Regions from separate parts of the Homo sapiens genome. Here regions 1, 2, 4, 5 and 6 are each linked to region 3. Evidence: promoter capture Hi-C in 16 types of primary human blood cells and fetal thymus (Javierre and others, 2016). All regions are on one chromosome and are shown on one strand. The core of a region is centred on a gene start or on the middle of the fragment in contact, and the rest is flanking DNA. Distances in the headings are between cores, read along the strand shown. Region 1 overlaps PTS (6-pyruvoyltetrahydropterin synthase). Region 2 overlaps NKAPD1 (NKAP domain containing 1). Region 3 holds the start of CWF19L2 (CWF19 like cell cycle control factor 2). Region 4 holds the start of FDXACB1 (ferredoxin-fold anticodon binding domain containing 1). Region 5 has its middle 4.8 kb from the start of DCUN1D5. Region 6 overlaps DCUN1D5 (defective in cullin neddylation 1 domain containing 5).

Region 1 (2,700 bases), core at 155-2,654, 4.8 Mb before region 3:
GTCTCTGCCTGTAGAAGTAGAAAATGTCTTTCAGGTGTCCAGCTACACAGCAAGCTGGTCCAATACTGAGCAGTACCTTTCTGAACAAGCAATACTACTGGGCCTTAAATTCTTGTCCCCTTACTCACATGAATGTATACAAAGTCTAAAGTAATGCTTTGTAAATTAAAAAGTGCTTGTGAGAAGCATTTGAAAAATCTTGGCCAGGCGTGGTGGCTCAAGCCTGTAATCCCAGCACTTCGGGAGGCCGAGGCGGGCAGATCACCTGAGGTCTGGAGTTTGAGAGCAGCCTGGCCAACATGGTGAAACCCCATCTCTACTAAAAATACAAAAATTAGCCAGGCATAGTGGCGGGCGCCTGTAATCTCAGCTACTCGGGAGGCTGAGGCTGGAGAATCGCTCGAACCTGGGAGGTGGAGGTTGTAGTGACGGGAGATCACACCATTCCAGCCTGGGCAAAAAGAGTGGAACTCCATCTCAAAAAAAAAAACAACAACAACAAAAAAAAACTTTATCAGTGCTTTACACATTAATAACTTTTATGAATTTATGTATTTTAGTTCTGTACAAATACCATTAGATATTACATGTAAGTGAGTACACTGAGACTGAGATACCATAGATTAAGGAAGAGGCTGTAGCTAAACCAGTAATCCTAATCTCCTGACACCTTGTCTGTTTTTTTTTATGCCACCACACCACATACTGTTTTATACTCTACGACTTATGTACCTGTTTTTTAAGGCAGGCTGTACCTCAAAGAATCAAGTCTCTTATCCTTGAACAAATTACCTACTTTCTTCGAACACTGCTGGCAAAGCTTTAGACCAAACCTATTTTTCTGCCATACATTACATTCCTAGGCAACATTCCCCTTTTGTCAGTCATTATTTACTCAAAGAATAAAATCTAATTTTAACATTAGCCTTGGCCATACCTAATCAGAAAGAAACTTGTTGTGTACTCTAGGACAAAGAAAAATGCTTTAAACCATTCATTGTTTTGGACTGTTTGTAAGAGTTGACATTGCAAGGTAAAACTTAACACACACCCAACCAAGACAACAGATCCTTTCATTCTGAACTCCCATTTAATTTCTCATTCAAGGCTCAAAGCATTCACACTGTGTCCGTAAGTTTTCCCATTCTTTATGTCTACATTTGCTGAATACTCTTTCATCCTTATTGAAGGGCTGAAATGTCATCAGTTTTTCTCTCACCTTTATAATTGTGCCCATGGCCATTTGGATTGTTGCATTTCCCAAACAGTTTCAAGTTTTCTTCATCACTTAGAAATTTACTGACCAAAAAAAAAAAAAAAAGTCAGCATGACACAAGTATCACATTCAAACCCCCTTCTCTGTTCCTTATATTTATTATTTGTACTGATCTTTGAAAAGTTTCCCAATTTATTACTTTAGCTCACCAAAGGGAGAGTCAGAAATCATGTTGATTTTATTACTTACGTATACGTCACAAACCATGGCATATTCCCTAATTAGAAGATTGTACCATACAAATTAGCACAAACAAACCTTAACTTCAACCCCCTTGTTCCACAGCAACTGATCTGCTCATGGGCCTTCCACTTTTCAATTCAACATTACTGAGTGCCTACAATGTAACAGGCAAGTGCTGAATGAAATAACAGCATATAATGATAAACATAGATGGTGATCCGCAAAGTGGCTTACTATCTCATTTCTCTCAGAAGCTAAACTACTCATCCAGAAAAAATAATTTAAAAAAATTACATGACCTGGTAAGTCTCCTATTTAGCAATCTTGCTTTATACTATGTCTCAACTACTGCCTCATGAGAACTTTACCAATCTGTTGAGGAATATTCCAAGCAGGTGAATTTTTAAAATTACAATCTTTGGCTGTCGTCTCAGACAGAAAACAAATTGCTTAATGTTTATACTTATACCCATCCATTCAATTTCGCATCGTCTATGAGACCTTACCACCCTCAGGTGTTTAAGCTTATTATACAACCCCTTTTTTTTGAGATCCTCTTTATTATTCCCCCCAATGTAGTTTGGATGTTTGTCCCCTCCAATTGTCATGTTGAAATGTGATCCCCAGTGTTGGAGATGGGGCCTAGTGGGAGATGTTTGGCTCATGGAAGTGGATCCCTTATGAATGGCTTGGTGCCCTCCCTGAAGCAATGAGTGAGTTCTCGCTCTATTAGTCAATGGGCGAGCTGGTTGTTAAAAAAAGCCTGGCACCTCCTCTCCTCTCTCTTGCTCCCTCACTTGCCCTGTGAGTTGCCTGCTTGCTCGCCCTTCGCCTTCCACCATGAGTGGAAGGTCCCTGAGGCCTCAACAGAAGCAGATGCTGGTGCCATGCTTCTTGTACAGCCTGCAGAACCAAATAAACCTCTTTTCTTTATAAAATACCAGTCTCAGTATTCCTTTGTGGCAATGCAAAATGGAATAACACACCCCCACTTTCTCCTGCTCAGCCACTTCTTGTATTTAGAGTGCTAAAGTCTTTTGCACAAAATTTTCTCAGTGTACCCTCCACAAAATAGGCCAGATTGGAAACCCCATACAAGATCCCTGATGCATCCGTTACCTAGCACAAGCCCTGACAAGCACGAAACAAAACCTGGTTTAGCGAATGGAGGGATGAATCCTGTTAGATAGCGATGGTCATCCTCATTTCACAGACGACGATACGGAGGGCCAGAGGGTGGA
Region 2 (2,700 bases), core at 101-2,600, 4.6 Mb before region 3:
TGGGGGATTGTAGGTTTTGAAAAACCACCCTAAGCCATATTAAGGGGGTTGGAAGAACCATCGAAGCCTAAGGCATAGAAGAAAATTTGGGGTTAAGAAAGATGAAGAACAAAAAACAGCTTTATTGCTTATACATGACCAAGAAAAGGAAAACATGGCAAAAAAAAAAAAAAAAAGGCAAGATGTGTATTCCTTGCGAAAGAACAAGCCTGCTAACTTGGGAGGAAGGGAAGGTCAGGACCCAAATAGAGCCAATTTCCTGGAGATGGCCTGTTCTACTGGCACATTTTCCTGAGTCTGTGCTTAAAACCTTTCAGGTACTTTCAGGGCACAGAAACAATGCATGCTAAAAAATATATGGCCAAAGCTCCTTCCAACAAAGATTTAACTTGCTCCAGGAACAAAATAATTGCTTTAGGTTAAGAGGTAGTAATTAGAGACTATTCTTCTCCCTTTAGACCCCCACTAATCCCAAAAATAAAAATACACACCATGGAACACTGACAATTGAGTACCAAAGTATTAAAATTTAAAATAAATATCCCAAAAGGTAGCACCTGCTCATAGTTAAGGGATAGGGCACCTCTGTCCAACCATGTATTTTAAGACCAAGCACTTTATTAGAAATCTGTCCCGTAAAGAGAACAAATTTAGCAGTTAGAACTAAAAATACCAACTCATGGAATGTCATCATAGTTGTATCTACTGCTGGTGTCTTATACTGTCATGCTACTGTGAAGTAATTCCGTATTACACATCAGGAAAGTAAGGCCAGGAAGGTGAACTTACCTGCTCTGGGCCTCCTCATAACCAATGAGTGGCAGAACCAAGACCGAAAGTCTGAGTTTTCAAGCTTTTTACTCAGCCCATTAAGTGACAACCAGGAAAAAATAATACGTCACTTGATCTTTCTTCCCACAGTGAAAAAATGCACTTGCGTTCTGCCAGCCTTCTTTCAGTGATATGTTGGTTTCTTAAGAATTAACATACTAAGGATCACAGTATAGCAAAGGGAATTAATGTGGTCTCTGCTTGGTGCTTTAATCCAAAGGCAGACTGGGAAGAAGTGGATATGTCCCTGAGAAGCCTGTTTCATTTTGGAAATAATTCAACTTAGTTTCAGGGAAAACCTAAACTTCATGAACAGATTTAGAAATGAACAAGACAACATTTAAATGGCAGTTGCTGCCCTGAATCCAGAGTACCATTAGACAACATGATTATTTCCTAATTCTTCCCCATTTGGTACAGGATTATCTATGACAATTGAAGAAATAATTTGAACACAAGTCCATTTAGGCAAATATACAGCAATGGAACTAGAAAACCATTTACTATCCAATTACCATGTTTAGGCATATACTAAGTATAGCTATAGGCCCCATCCAGCAGGGAAATTTGCAAAAACTCTAGTCCCTTCTAATAAGTTGTCTATGGATGTTATCATGAAGGGAAAAGGTTTGTTCTTAGGCCCATGTCCTGATTAAGTAAACCGGACCACACCTGTGGGGTCAAAATATAGAAGGATCAAAGCACCAAGGCTAAAGACAAGTTAGTTGTGACACCTGCTATATAAACAGAGAGCAATACAGTGTTGCCTTGTCATACCATCCTACATGGCATTAGTTCCAATCCACCTCTTGATCCCAGCCCTTGACTTCCCCAAATTCAATATTCCGATTGGTGTACCCAGGTCACTATTGGATCCAGCTTTCTGGGTCCTTTAATTTGCTGTATATGCACTCTACACTAAACGTAATTAATTGCAAAAAAAAATAATCTCTTCAAGAAACCTTCATAACAAAATACCAGATTCCCTTTTAACAAGAAAAGGGGATCAAGCTTAACGCCAAAATAGAAGACAAGACGTCTGTCAGAACATACAGATGGCACAAGACAGCTCTGACCTCAGGCCCCGTGCTGAACAAGAGTCACTGGCAAAACCACAAGGAGTAAGAACTGTAAATATCCACAGTCATGTGGAAAACAAAAGTGTTTCCCATTTAGTCATCCTCTGAGCTCTCAGCAGACCTTTCATCTGTAGCTACTTTCCAATTTGTGCGTTTGTTTGTCCTCTCCTGTATTTCATTGTTGGCTACAGAGGTATGGGCTTTTTTCTCTCTCTTTTTCCTTTTGGTTTTCTTAGTGTCTCTTTCCTCACTTTCCTCAGAACTGCTGGATGCTGAATCATCTGAATGTGAAGTGTTACTTTCTGCCTCTAAGAATAAAGCAGGTTTTTTGAGAGACTTTTTCCTGGATTTTTTCTTGCGTTTATGTGGTTGTTTCCCTTTCCTTGTACCAGAAGCCCCAGTTTCTTCTGAGAACTCACTCGAGGAATCTGCTGTTATATCTGTGGCTTCCTTTTTGCTTTTCTTCTGTTTTTTGTGTGACCTTTTTTTCTGCTTTTTTTTGTGGGATTTCTTTGACTTCTTGTGTTTGCGGGATTCATGGGTAGATGACTTTACCTGGGGAGATGTTTTCTTCCCGTTGGTAATATCTTGCTGATCACTACTAATAAGAAAAGTTAAAAAATAGAAGCTTTTATGTAAAAAAAAAGCGTATTATTTTAATATTTTGCATTCTAGATTAAAAAATTGAGGTTAACATCTGAATTTTAAATAAGCACTTTAATGTATACTTTAACACTTTAATATTCTCATTGAGTTTTTGTTTCCTCATCTTTAAAATGAAGGTAAAAAT
Region 3 (2,700 bases), core at 15-2,514:
CATACTTGTTTGTTATTTATAAGCCATCCATTCTATAATATTTTGTTATAGCAGCCTGAACTGATTAAAACACACACGTTTCTAATATAATCACAGTTTATTTTTATTGAATTGATGCAAAACAGTGAAATGGATGTTTTTCTGAATTCCAAGAGAATCTGAAAAGACGTTGATGCTAGTTATGACAAATATCAGTCAATGTAGTCAGTTGATTAAATATTACAAGGTCGATTAGTAAATTACATTTTAAAATAAAATGAATACTTTCTATTGCATATCAAACAAGTAGGCATTGTGTGTTCAAGATTCAGACTCATAGAATGGTAGTGAATGTAAAAACTCTTGGAAAGCTTCTTGCAAACACACATTAAATTTTATGAAACCTGAAGAGAAAGAGTATTTACCTCAACCTGGCTTATGTTACTTATTTTTAGCGTCTTTAAGGTATCGTTTATAATTAATTCCCCAGCCTTCTTCTTCTTGTAAATGTAAGCTTAGTGTCTTATGTTCTCAAAGCACTTCATCACCTTAGAATGTCTTATTCTTCTGAACTTAAAAGTTTTATGTTTGGGCGATACATGCGTAAAACAAAACAAAGAAATCTCCGCAGAAATAAATAAGTAACTGTCCATTGTAATGAAAAATGCTTGGATGGATAAGTATGAGTAAATAATATGGGGTCAGAGGAAAAAATATAATGTAAACTTCTAACAAGTTAAGCACGGGTAAATTGTGAAGTGCAATGCAAAATTCACATGAGTGTTTCATATATTAAGTAAAATCCACCAAAACAAAACACTGAATCTTCAAGGCAATTCTGTCCTTCCTGCCAGCTGCCACTACCTTTCTGGCAGCCTCCCTTTATCCCATTCCTCCAGCACAGGGAAATGATGCTCTGGCGACAAAGGGTACTTCCGCAGAAAACTTTTGAGAGGTACCAACTTAACTTCCAAGAGCTTGTAACTTACTCCGGTGATTTTAAGACGAAATTGGTGAGAAAGCTGTTAATATAGTAAAAAGTGCATAATAAATATATACGGGTATTAATCCTGCTCACAATCGCACCCAACACCTGAAAGAATTAAACCCTCCAACACCCTTCGGGTCTTTAAAATCTGGGCTGCGGTAATCCGAGCCCTAAGCGACCTCAGATGTGCGCATGCCCTGTTGGTGGAGCCGTGCTCCTCCTTCCTCGGGTCCGGAAGTCCCGGTTTGTTTGTTAAATTACGACCGTCGTAAACTAGAATTTTCTTGCGGCTTCTTAGCTTTACGATGGCAACAAGTATGGCGGCTGCTAGTGGTAGATTTGAAAGTGCGAAGAGTATCGAAGAGCGGAAAGAACAGACCCGGAATGCCAGGGCCGAGGTGTTGCGCCAGGTACCTCTGTTTTGGGGCTTTTGTAGTTATTTATTGTTGTGGGAGTTGAGGGTTCCCGTAAGCTAGCCCACTCACCCCTTCCCTTACCTCGTCAGTACTGAATCTCACCTTAATTTGGGTGAGTTCTCCCTTTGCAATGCCGGTAAACCCTTTTGTAGCTACCGATTTTTTAGATGTTCTGGCAGGTGCCAGTTGCTAATTCTCTTTTCAGGCAGATCTGTCGCTTTTTCTCCAAGTTTCTTTACCTTTTAAGTTACCCATTCTTTACATTTCTATCACTCGGACTGCACACTTTGTAGGTCCCCTGCGGCTTGTAAGGACTCTGCCAGCATGTCTCGCAGCCTCAGTCATTGCTACTGCTGTATCTGAAATGAGATTTTCCTTTTTCGGAAACACATTCAAGTCACACTTGAATAGACTCAGTTTGACATTTCCTCCTCCTGTCTCTATTGGTATCAATTCCAGACTTACTGTAAGCTCTTACCAATCCAAACAAAAGTTAACACCAATCTCAGTATATTTAGCCTGTCACAAAAGATCGCGAAACATTGTATTTCTCACTAAACTTCAGATACATAGAGGTAACATACAAAGAATGGAGAAAGTAAGCTTCTGAATTATCTGACAATCTATTCAATATGTAAGAAGTGTGGCAATGAAAGAGAAAAGTTGCAGTTGGAGAGCAACAGAGAATTCAGTGAGGGTTTTTGTTTTTATTTAAGTTGGAAGAGTTTTAAACAAGTTTAAATGCAAATGAGAAGGAGCCAGCAGAGAAGAGGGAGAGGAGACTCTAAAGGGAAAATGACATAGTTTCAAAATTTGGCAAATAATTTGAGGGTGAAGCAGCCCCATTCTCCTTTAATCTCCAATTTTCTCACCCTGTTCTTTGGAGTCCATCATAAGCCCTGCTCTTTTCTCTGATATCGATTTTTCTGTTTGGTATATAACCATTGTATTCATCTTCTTGCCTACACCAAGAATTATTATATGCACCCAGGGAAAAGCTAGCTGCAGAATGTTGGACTACCTCTCCATGATTTTCCCTTTTCTGGAATATTAACTCTTCTAGTTCTTGTTGCTTCAGCAGTTCTCTGATATAAACCTTTAATAAATTATTTTTATATTTGATTAAAAAAAAAAAGAAAATGACTACAGCCAGGTTTTAAAGGGGAAGAGTGGGCGATTAGTCTTGGGTAGGTGAAATGTTGGTATTGTTTCGTAATTTCAACATATGTAATGTGTGTGTGTGGGTATATATATATTATTCATTCTTTTCTCTTTGGTATTTCCAGCAGTTTTTGGAGGGAGTAAGTTTCGTAAGTT
Region 4 (2,700 bases), core at 139-2,638, 4.4 Mb before region 3:
GTCATGGCGCTGGTGGGAGTGTAGCAATGAGGATGACCAGAGATCACTCTCATCACCATCTCGGTTTTGGTGGATTTTAGCTGGCTTCTTTACTGCAACCCGTTTTATCAGCAAGGTCTTTATGACCTGTATCTTGTGCTGAGCTATCTCATCCTGTGACTAAGAATGCCTTAACTTACTGGGAATGCAGCCCAGGTCTTAGCCTTATTTACCTAGCCCCTATTCAAGACGGAGTTGCTCTGGTATAAATACCTCTGACATTCTCACTTATAAGTGGGAGCTAAACATTGAGCAAACATGGACCTAAACATGGAAACAACACACACTCCAGGCTACTAACTAGAGTGGGGAGGGCGGGTGGTGTGGGTTGAAAAACTATTAGGTGCAATATACCCATGTAGCAAACCTGCAACCTACCTGGGTGCAATATATCCACGTAACAAACCTGTACCTGTACCCCCATTTGTAAAATAAAAGTTGATTTTTTTTAAAGGCTTACAACGCTCCCTATGACCTGGCCCCTGCCTAACTCTTCAGTCTCATCTGTTACTCTCCCTCCAATTGTGTTTCAGCCAAACTCAACTATTCTGTTTCTCCATCAAGCTTTTGCATATATTGTTCCTTCTGCCTCTTCACGCCTCTTGACTCAGTTAAGATGCACTTTTACCCTGTTAGCTTTCAACTCGGGTTTACTTCATCCAAGGACTCTCTGACCCTCTTCGCCCCCAAACTTGGTAACGTTCTTCTGTGTGCTCCCAGAGCACACACCCTGCCATATCAGAGTTGCCTGTTTTGCTCTGTGCATTCCCCACCAGACTGCAGGCTCATTGAAATCATAGGCCACATTTTGTTCATCCACATATCGTAACCACCCTCACAGTGGCCTGGCACGCAATAGACACTCAATACTCTTTCTTGAACGAATAGAAGATAGGAGATTTAAGCACCTGGAAGAGAAATTTTGAGCAGCAGAGACACTGGGAGGCAGCCATTTCAGACGAGGTGAAAAAAGGTTCAAAACCTTCTGCGTCAGGAGCATGCGAGACACAGTCCAACCTCTTCCTTGGCCTCAGCCCCGCCCCGTTTCTTTCACCCAGAACTCGCCTCACCCCCCTGCGCTAGTGACTGCTTGTGACCTCATGCAGGTGTGATGAAGTCGCTCAAGGCCATGCTTGGGCTAAAGACACTTTGATCTTCCCGAGGGGGTGAAAGGGCGAGGTGACAGGAAAGTGCGCGTCTTGCTTTTGCACTCATAGTTATCATCCACCGGGGAGTCGGTACACCGGCTCGTCTAGACAACCAGGCGCCATGGGTGCGTCATCAACTAGTGACGGGAGAAGACGGGGCGGAGAGAGATCCGTGAAGGAAGTGACGTAAAACGAGCGCCACAGAGAACGCGAGCCGGGAGTCCGTGGAGGCCATGGCCCCTCGGCGCCTCCTGTTGGTTGGGGAGGGGAATTTCTCCTTCGCCGCCGCTCTGAGCGAAACCCTGGATCAGAGCACTCAACTTACCGCCACCTGCCTCCAGCGCCCGGCCGAGTTGGCTCGGGATCCACTGGCCTGGGAGAATCTGCAGTGCCTGCGCGAGCGAGGTAGCGAGCCCGCCCCTCTGCGAAACCCCGCCCAGCGGCCGGCGCGTCCCAAAGTGGAAAGGGTGGGGGCGTGGGGATGTAACCCACGTGGAGATTGTTCTTGATCGTCCCACGGATATTCACATAAAGCCGGCTTTGTGCCCAGACTTGGGCTGGTCTGCACGGTTTAAGTTAGGAAGAGTTTTTCTGTTCCATGTCTTGAGGCATCCTCCTGTCTATATTTTGCGCCCCCAAACTATCTTTGCCAGGTATCGATGTACGTTTCGGTGTGGACTGCACCCAGCTGGCAGATGTCTTTGAACTGCACGAGAGAGAATTTGATCAAATTTATTTCATCTTCCCGCATTGTGGACGCAAAGCTGGCGTAGCTAAGAACAGGGAACTGCTTGCCAAATTTTTCCAAAGGTGAGGAAAGGAGCGCCCTCACAAGGAAAATGTTTAAGATGTCCATAACATAGTTACTGTACCCAAACATAAGGCACACGTGCAAGCTACTATGATATGTTTAGAAGAGACTATAAAGCCCCAAAGGAACCCCAAGTTTAGTTGGAAAGACAGATATATAAACCCTAAATGCTAAATGAAAGTACAAATAATGTACTCTTGGGTGTGTAAAAGAGGATCATTTATTTTTGACAGTGCAAAATAATGAGAGCCATATAGTCTAATGGCTAAGAACGTGCACTTAGAAGCCAGACTGCCTGGATTCAAATCCCAGCCCACCACTTAACAGTTGTTATTTTTTTATTTTTATTTATTTTTATTTTTTGAGACAGAGTCTCGCCCTGTCGCCCAGGCTGGAGTGCAGTGGTGTGGTGCAATCTCGGCTCACTGCAAGCTCCGCCTACTGGGTTCACGCCATTCTCCTGCCTCAGCCTCCCAAGTAGCTGGGAGTACAGGCGCCCGCCACCACGCCCAGCTAATTTTTTGTATTTTTAGTAGAGATGGGGTTTCACCGTGTTAGCCAGGATGGTGTCGATCTCCTGACCTTGTGATCCGCCTGCCTTGGCCTCCTAAAGTGCTGGGATTACAGGCATGAGCCACCACGCCCGGCCAACAGTTGTTATTTTAAGCAAGCTTACTTAATCTTTACATGCTTCCGTTTCCT
Region 5 (2,700 bases), core at 163-2,662, 4.4 Mb after region 3:
GCAAGGTGGGTGCCAAATAAATGTCCGACTCTTTGCAGACCATTAACTGCCTTTCTAAGAATAACTGCCTCTGCTGCAATCATGTGAACTGATCTTCTCTGTGCTGAGTGGTCCTCACCAGTGGCTTTCCATAACTGCTCACATGTTACCTATGGATTTTCCAAAGAAGTCATGCATAGCCATGGCCCAAGAATTTGCTGAATCCCATTCAAACTGCCCAGTGTAGATGACCCTATTTTCAATGGCTGAAAACATGGTTATTGTTAATATCCCTGCAACTAAAGATGAAGTCATCAAAAAGGTGGTAGTGATATAGATAAGAAAGCTCCATTATCAGAATTTGGGTGAGGATAAAAACCAAGACAACTCACTCCTTTTACGTATCTCCTTCATTGCAACGCCTTCCTTTGATTCTGTAAAATGCTTCAAAATATATCCTCTTGCTAAATATAGAATTTGATTTTTGTTTAATGTACTCTAAAGACCTCAACTGATACGTGGTTTTGTACCCTTTAGCAATTTTGATAACATTGTTATCAAAACATTTATTTAACATTTATTTTCTCATTTTTTTCAACACCACAATGCTGTGATGTCAGACAAGGCAAGTATTATTATTTTATCTTACAAAGAACAAAACTGAGTCACAACATGGTTAAATGTTTTATCAAGTTTGCAAAGTTAAAAAGGAAATTCATCAGTCTAATGGTGGTTCTTATTTTAACAAACCCTTTACACTATGCCACTTTCCAATGTTAAGTCTTGGAAGTGTATAGTGTGATAAATGCCTATTCAGCAAATACCAAAATTAGGAAACTACACTTAAGAACATACCCAGTGCAAGCTGTCTCCATTCAATTTTGGTCTTCTCTACCATCTCATCCAAACAAAAAGAGAGTTCTCTTCAGCAAGTCATCAAAACAATACAACCTCTGCCAGTAATTTTGGTTCTGTGAACTACTTTTTTTTAAGACAGAGTCTTGCTTTGTCACCTAGGCTGGAGTGCAGTGCCATGATCTTGGCTCACTGCAACCTCCACCTCCCAGGTTCAAGAGATTCTCCTGCCTCAGCCTCCGCAGAGCTGAGATTACAGGCATGCGCCACCACGCCCGGCTAATTTTTGTATCTTTAGTAGGAACAGAGTTTTGTCCATGTTGGCCAGACTGGTCTCGAACTCCTTGCCTCAAGTGATCCACTCACCTCGGCCTCCCAAAGTCCTGGGATTACAGGCATGAGCCACGGCACCTGGCCTGAACTACTTTTCTTCATTTGGGGTACATATTCACATATGGGAAAGCAAATCAGGTGTACTGCTTAATACAATTTCCCACCTGAGCACTTGTTCTTAGTCTTCCTGGTTAGGTTTCAAGTTGAAATTGCTCTGTCCTTGGCCAGCTGATATACAAGACATTGCTTTCTACCTATGATCCCACATCCAGAATTTTTTCGATTCTTACCTTTCCAAAAGCATCCAACCTAGGCAGCTCCTTTGAATCATTACTCTTTCTTCCTGTACTTTACTATTTTCTAAATTTTATTTTTTCCCATTCACTGTGACTTTTTAATAATTTATTTTAGAAGAGTTTTAATTTTGTGGAAAAATTGCAATGATACTACAGAAACTGCTCATATATCCCACACCCAGTTTCCCCTATTACTAATGTCTTACATTGGTATGGTACATTTCCCACAATGAATGAACCAATATTGATTTTTTTTTTCAACTAGACTTCACTTTTTGATAGGAAATGGTAAGTTTCTAGAATATGTGGGATGAGAGATATTGCTGTGACCACCTTTGAAGAATATAAACTGCCACGGTGAGGTATAAGCTGAAACCAATCTTATGCTTTTTCCTACTGCCTCTTTAAAACTGCACTGTGAACTCATTTTTCCCTATGCTTTGAACAAAATTTCAGTCCAGTCTCTTACTGTAGTAGGCTGTATTTACCTTTACTTGATGTTTCTCTCTGCAGGGGGATCATACATTCCTGCCCTCGTGACCTCAGGTGTAGCCATATGACTTGAACAGGATTAATGTGTCACTTCGGGGCAGAATCCTCAAGAGGCAGCATGGGATTTACCATGTTGTTCTTTCTCTCTGTCATGATGACAAGCAGTGTTCTAGGTAGTGACTGTTCCCTCAGTCTAGATCCCAGAGTGAACCACAGTCACAGCCAAGCTAAAATTGATGTGGTCTGGCACACCGCTTTAGGGTGTAGGGGGTAAGTGTCATGTGTTACACAGTTCTGCACCTCTGGGCCTCTCTAAAACACAAGGAGTTCTTGTAGGCTATACTGAAATGCCAAAACAAAAAATCCTGTCTTGACATCCCATTTCTACTATTCTCTTAGAGTTATCTTTCTGTAGATTTATGTGCATGAAAACATTTCAGAAAATTTTTAACTACAATGCTGTTTTAAAAATCAACATTAATATATGGAAGGGAGAGCATCTGCACAGATCCAGGACCACAATAACGCGGCATCCCATAAATCACTTAATGTCTGTGTTGCTTGTTATTCTCCCAAGTAGGAAAGTCCTATTTTAAAGAGGTGTTAAGAAAAACTAAACTATGTACGGAATATATAAATTAACACATCTTAGAGTACTATTTTTGGATACCTTGACAGAGATATAACTATTTTAAAAGATGTTTTTCATGGCTTTGTTTTATAACTCCCAAAAGCTAAGGGATGT
Region 6 (2,700 bases), core at 87-2,586, 4.4 Mb after region 3:
TGGAAATTTGATAACCTGGGCCTGGTTTTACACACAATTAGAGGTAAAGGGCTTCTACCTGAGAGAATTCCTCGTCCTCCATCTTCTGTCTTGCAGATTTGGGGCTGGAATTCACTATCTGACCCAAGCCAAAAATGTGTTTTAGAATAAGACTCCCCTGTTTGTAATGGAAGCAGTTCTTCCATAGAGAAATTTTACACAAACCTCAATTTTTGCAGAAAAAGGTTCCGTGATCACTAGTTTATAATCAGAAATCACTAAACATTGAGAAATCAATCTTAAAAAATGAACTTGAGAATCAGACCCTTTAAGATTAATTTATGAATTATCACAATTTCCGCATAAGACAACTCTGTGGTTACAGAAAAGAGAATGGTCTCAGATATCAGACTCCGAATAATTAAATTTCTGAAAGTGAAAAACAGCAGATTAAAAACTCCTGGGCATGGTGGCTCACGCCTGTAATCCCAGCACTTTGGGAGGCTGAGATGGGCCAATCACGAGGTCAGGAGATTGAGACCATCCTGGCCAACATGGTGAAACCCTGTCTCTACTAAAAATACAAAAATTAGCTGGATGTGGTGGTGCACGCCCATAGTCCCAGCTACTAGGGAGGCTAAGGCAGGAGAATCGCTTGAACCGGGGAGGTGGAGGTTGTGACCTGAGATTGCACCACTGCACTCCAGCCTGGGGACAGAGCGAGACTCAATCTCAAAACAAACAAACAAACAAACACTCAGCAGATGAGATAGAAAGAAGATAATGTAGTTGACTTGTAAGGATCAGTGATCTACGATATCTAAGGAGATTAGTGCAGAGAGGCAGAAGGGGAATGTGAAAGAGATGCTAACGAACATGGAAGATAAATTTTTTTACTGTTGAATTTTCAGAGTTTGCTGATACTAGTCTTTTGTTGAATGTGTGTTTTGCAAACATTTTCTTACATTCTATAACTTCTTTCATTCCTGTAACAAGGTCTTTTGCAGAGCAAAAGTTTTTGATGATGTCCAGTTTATTAGTTTTTCCTTTTATGGAGTGTACTTTTTTTTGAGAATCTCACTCTGTTGCACTCCAGTGAGTTGTCTCACTCACAGTTTGCACTGCAACCTGTGCTGCGATCTTGGCTGACTTCAACCTTCACCTCCTGGGTTCAAGCGATCCTCCCACATCAGCCCCCCGAGTAGCCACACATGCATGTGCCACCATACCTGGCTAATTTTTCTATTTTTTAGTAGTGACAGGATTTCACCATGTTGGCCAGGCTGGTCTCAAAATCCTGACCTCAAGTGATCTGCCCGCCTGAGCCTCCAAAAATGTTGGGATTACAGACATGAGCCCCCGCCTCAGTTTTGATGTACTTTTGATTGTACTTTTGATGTCAAGTCTAAGAATTATTTGCCTAGCCTTATATCATGAGAATTTTCTCATGTATTTTTCTAGAAGCCTTCCATTATTAAATTTTACATGTAAGTCAGTGGTGCATTTTGAATTAATTTCTGTAAAAGCTATGTAAATGTTGGACATATTTGTGTACATTTATTTCTGGGTTCTCTGTTCCACTGATGTGTCTTAACCTTCTGCCAGTACCACACAGTCTGGATTACTGTGGCTAAATACTAAGACTTGAAATCAGGTAGACTTATGCATCCTGTTTCAAAATTGTTTTAGGTATTCTAGTGTATTTGCTTTTCCATATAAATTTTAGAATAGTCTTTTCTTTACAAAAATATCTTGCTGAGATTTTGGTTAAATAGCATATAAATTTGGGGAGAATTGACATTTTTACTGTTTTGAGTCTTTGAATACTCTTAATATTCCTGATATTGGTAATTTTTGTCTTCTCTCTTTTTTTGTCAGTCTTGCTTTGAATACTGGAAGATAGTAATGTCTCTTCATTTTTTTAGGTATTTGATTTTTTTCATCAGTTTTGTGTAGTTTTCGGCATATACGTCCTGTACATCTTTTGTTAGAATTACACCTAAGTATTTTATTTTTACTTCAACCTGTTGTAAATGGTATTTTACATTTTAGTGTCCACATGTTCATTACTAATATATAGAAATACAATTGATTTTTATATGTTTATCTTGTATCCTGTGACCTTGCTGAACTCACCTGTTCGTTCTAAGATGTTTTCTGTATAGACCTTGGATTTTCTACATAGTCATGTCATCTAGAAATAGGGACAGTTTATTTCTCTTTTCTGATCTATATATCTTTTATTTCTTTTATTATTATACTTCAAGTTCTAGGGTACATGTGCACAACGTGCAGGTTTGTTACATATGTATACATGTGCCATGTTGGTGCTGCACCCGTTAGCTCGTCGTTTATGTTAGGTATATCTCCTAATGCTATCCCTCCCCCCTCCCCCCACCCCCCGACAGGCCCCGGTGTGTGATGTTCCCCACCCTGTGTCCAAGTGTTCTCATTGTTCAGTTCCCACCTATGAGTGAGAACATGCAGTGTTTGGTTTTCTGTCCTGTGATAGTTTGCTCAGAATGATGGTTTCTAGCTTCATCCCTGTCCCTACAAAGGACATGAACTCATCCTTTTTTATGGCTGGATAGTATTCCATGGTGTGTATGTGCCACATTTTCTTAATCCAGTCTATCATTGATGGACATTTGGGATGGTTCCAAGTCTTTACTATTGTGAATAGTGCCACAGTAAACATACGTGTGCATATGTCTTTATAGC

The links. Contacts are between HindIII fragments. The CHiCAGO score rates a contact against its expected background, and 5 or more counts as called.
Region 1: a fragment that was not itself captured here is called in contact with the fragment with the promoter of CWF19L2 in region 3 in 3 of 17 cell types (fetal thymus, total CD4 T cells and naive CD8 T cells); the score reaches 7.4 in fetal thymus.
Region 2: a contact is called between a fragment that was not itself captured here and the fragment with the promoter of CWF19L2 in region 3, in 1 of 17 cell types (fetal thymus). The highest score is 7.2, in fetal thymus.
Region 4: a contact is called between the fragment with the promoter of FDXACB1 here and the fragment with the promoter of CWF19L2 in region 3, in 4 of 17 cell types (total CD4 T cells, naive CD8 T cells, non-activated CD4 T cells and 1 more). The highest score is 14.5, in total CD4 T cells.
Region 5: a fragment that was not itself captured here is called in contact with the fragment with the promoter of CWF19L2 in region 3 in 6 of 17 cell types (naive CD4 T cells, non-activated CD4 T cells, naive CD8 T cells and 3 more); the score reaches 8.1 in naive CD4 T cells.
Region 6: a fragment that was not itself captured here is called in contact with the fragment with the promoter of CWF19L2 in region 3 in 1 of 17 cell types (non-activated CD4 T cells); the score reaches 6.0 in non-activated CD4 T cells.

The regions. Positions count from the first base shown.
Region 1 is chr11:112,227,193-112,229,892 of GRCh38, reverse strand. PTS (6-pyruvoyltetrahydropterin synthase) reads right to left here. Exons shown (of 6, transcript NM_000317.3): 2 at 1,220-1,299. Among named protein-coding and RNA genes, the nearest start is that of PTS, 2.1 kb to the right of the region's middle. RefSeq lists a silencer at 2,533-2,700. The HindIII fragment of the contact is 1,163 bases long and covers 823-1,985 here.
Region 2 is chr11:112,082,276-112,084,975 of GRCh38, reverse strand. NKAPD1 (NKAP domain containing 1) reads right to left here. Exons shown (of 6, transcript NM_018195.4): 6 at 1-2,511. The coding sequence ends at 2,004. It overlaps TIMM8B (translocase of inner mitochondrial membrane 8 homolog B), which reads left to right. Exons shown (of 2, transcript NM_012459.4): 2 at 1-176. Among named protein-coding and RNA genes, the nearest start is that of TIMM8B, 3.1 kb to the left of the region's middle. The HindIII fragment of the contact is 989 bases long and covers 856-1,844 here.
Region 3 is chr11:107,456,389-107,459,088 of GRCh38, reverse strand. CWF19L2 (CWF19 like cell cycle control factor 2) reads left to right here and starts at 1,264. Exons shown (of 18, transcript NM_152434.3): 1 at 1,264-1,377. The coding sequence starts at 1,273. RefSeq lists an enhancer at 980-1,485. The HindIII fragment of the contact is 1,493 bases long and covers 496-1,988 here.
Region 4 is chr11:111,877,853-111,880,552 of GRCh38, reverse strand. FDXACB1 (ferredoxin-fold anticodon binding domain containing 1) reads left to right here and starts at 1,388. Exons shown (of 5, transcript NM_138378.3): 1 at 1,388-1,592; 2 at 1,841-1,997. The coding sequence starts at 1,421. CFAP68 (cilia and flagella associated protein 68) reads right to left here and starts at 1,012. Exons shown (of 4, transcript NM_022761.3): 1 at 948-1,012. The coding sequence starts at 992. RefSeq lists enhancers at 1,135-1,604, 1,101-1,720. The HindIII fragment of the contact is 2,066 bases long and covers 606-2,671 here.
Region 5 is chr11:103,095,569-103,098,268 of GRCh38, reverse strand. No RefSeq gene overlaps it. Among named protein-coding and RNA genes, the nearest start is that of DCUN1D5, 4.8 kb to the right of the region's middle. The HindIII fragment of the contact is 8,986 bases long and covers 1-2,700 here.
Region 6 is chr11:103,072,441-103,075,140 of GRCh38, reverse strand. The region is part of intron 4 of DCUN1D5 (defective in cullin neddylation 1 domain containing 5); the gene reads left to right. Among named protein-coding and RNA genes, the nearest start is that of DCUN1D5, 18 kb to the left of the region's middle. The HindIII fragment of the contact is 5,346 bases long and covers 1-2,700 here.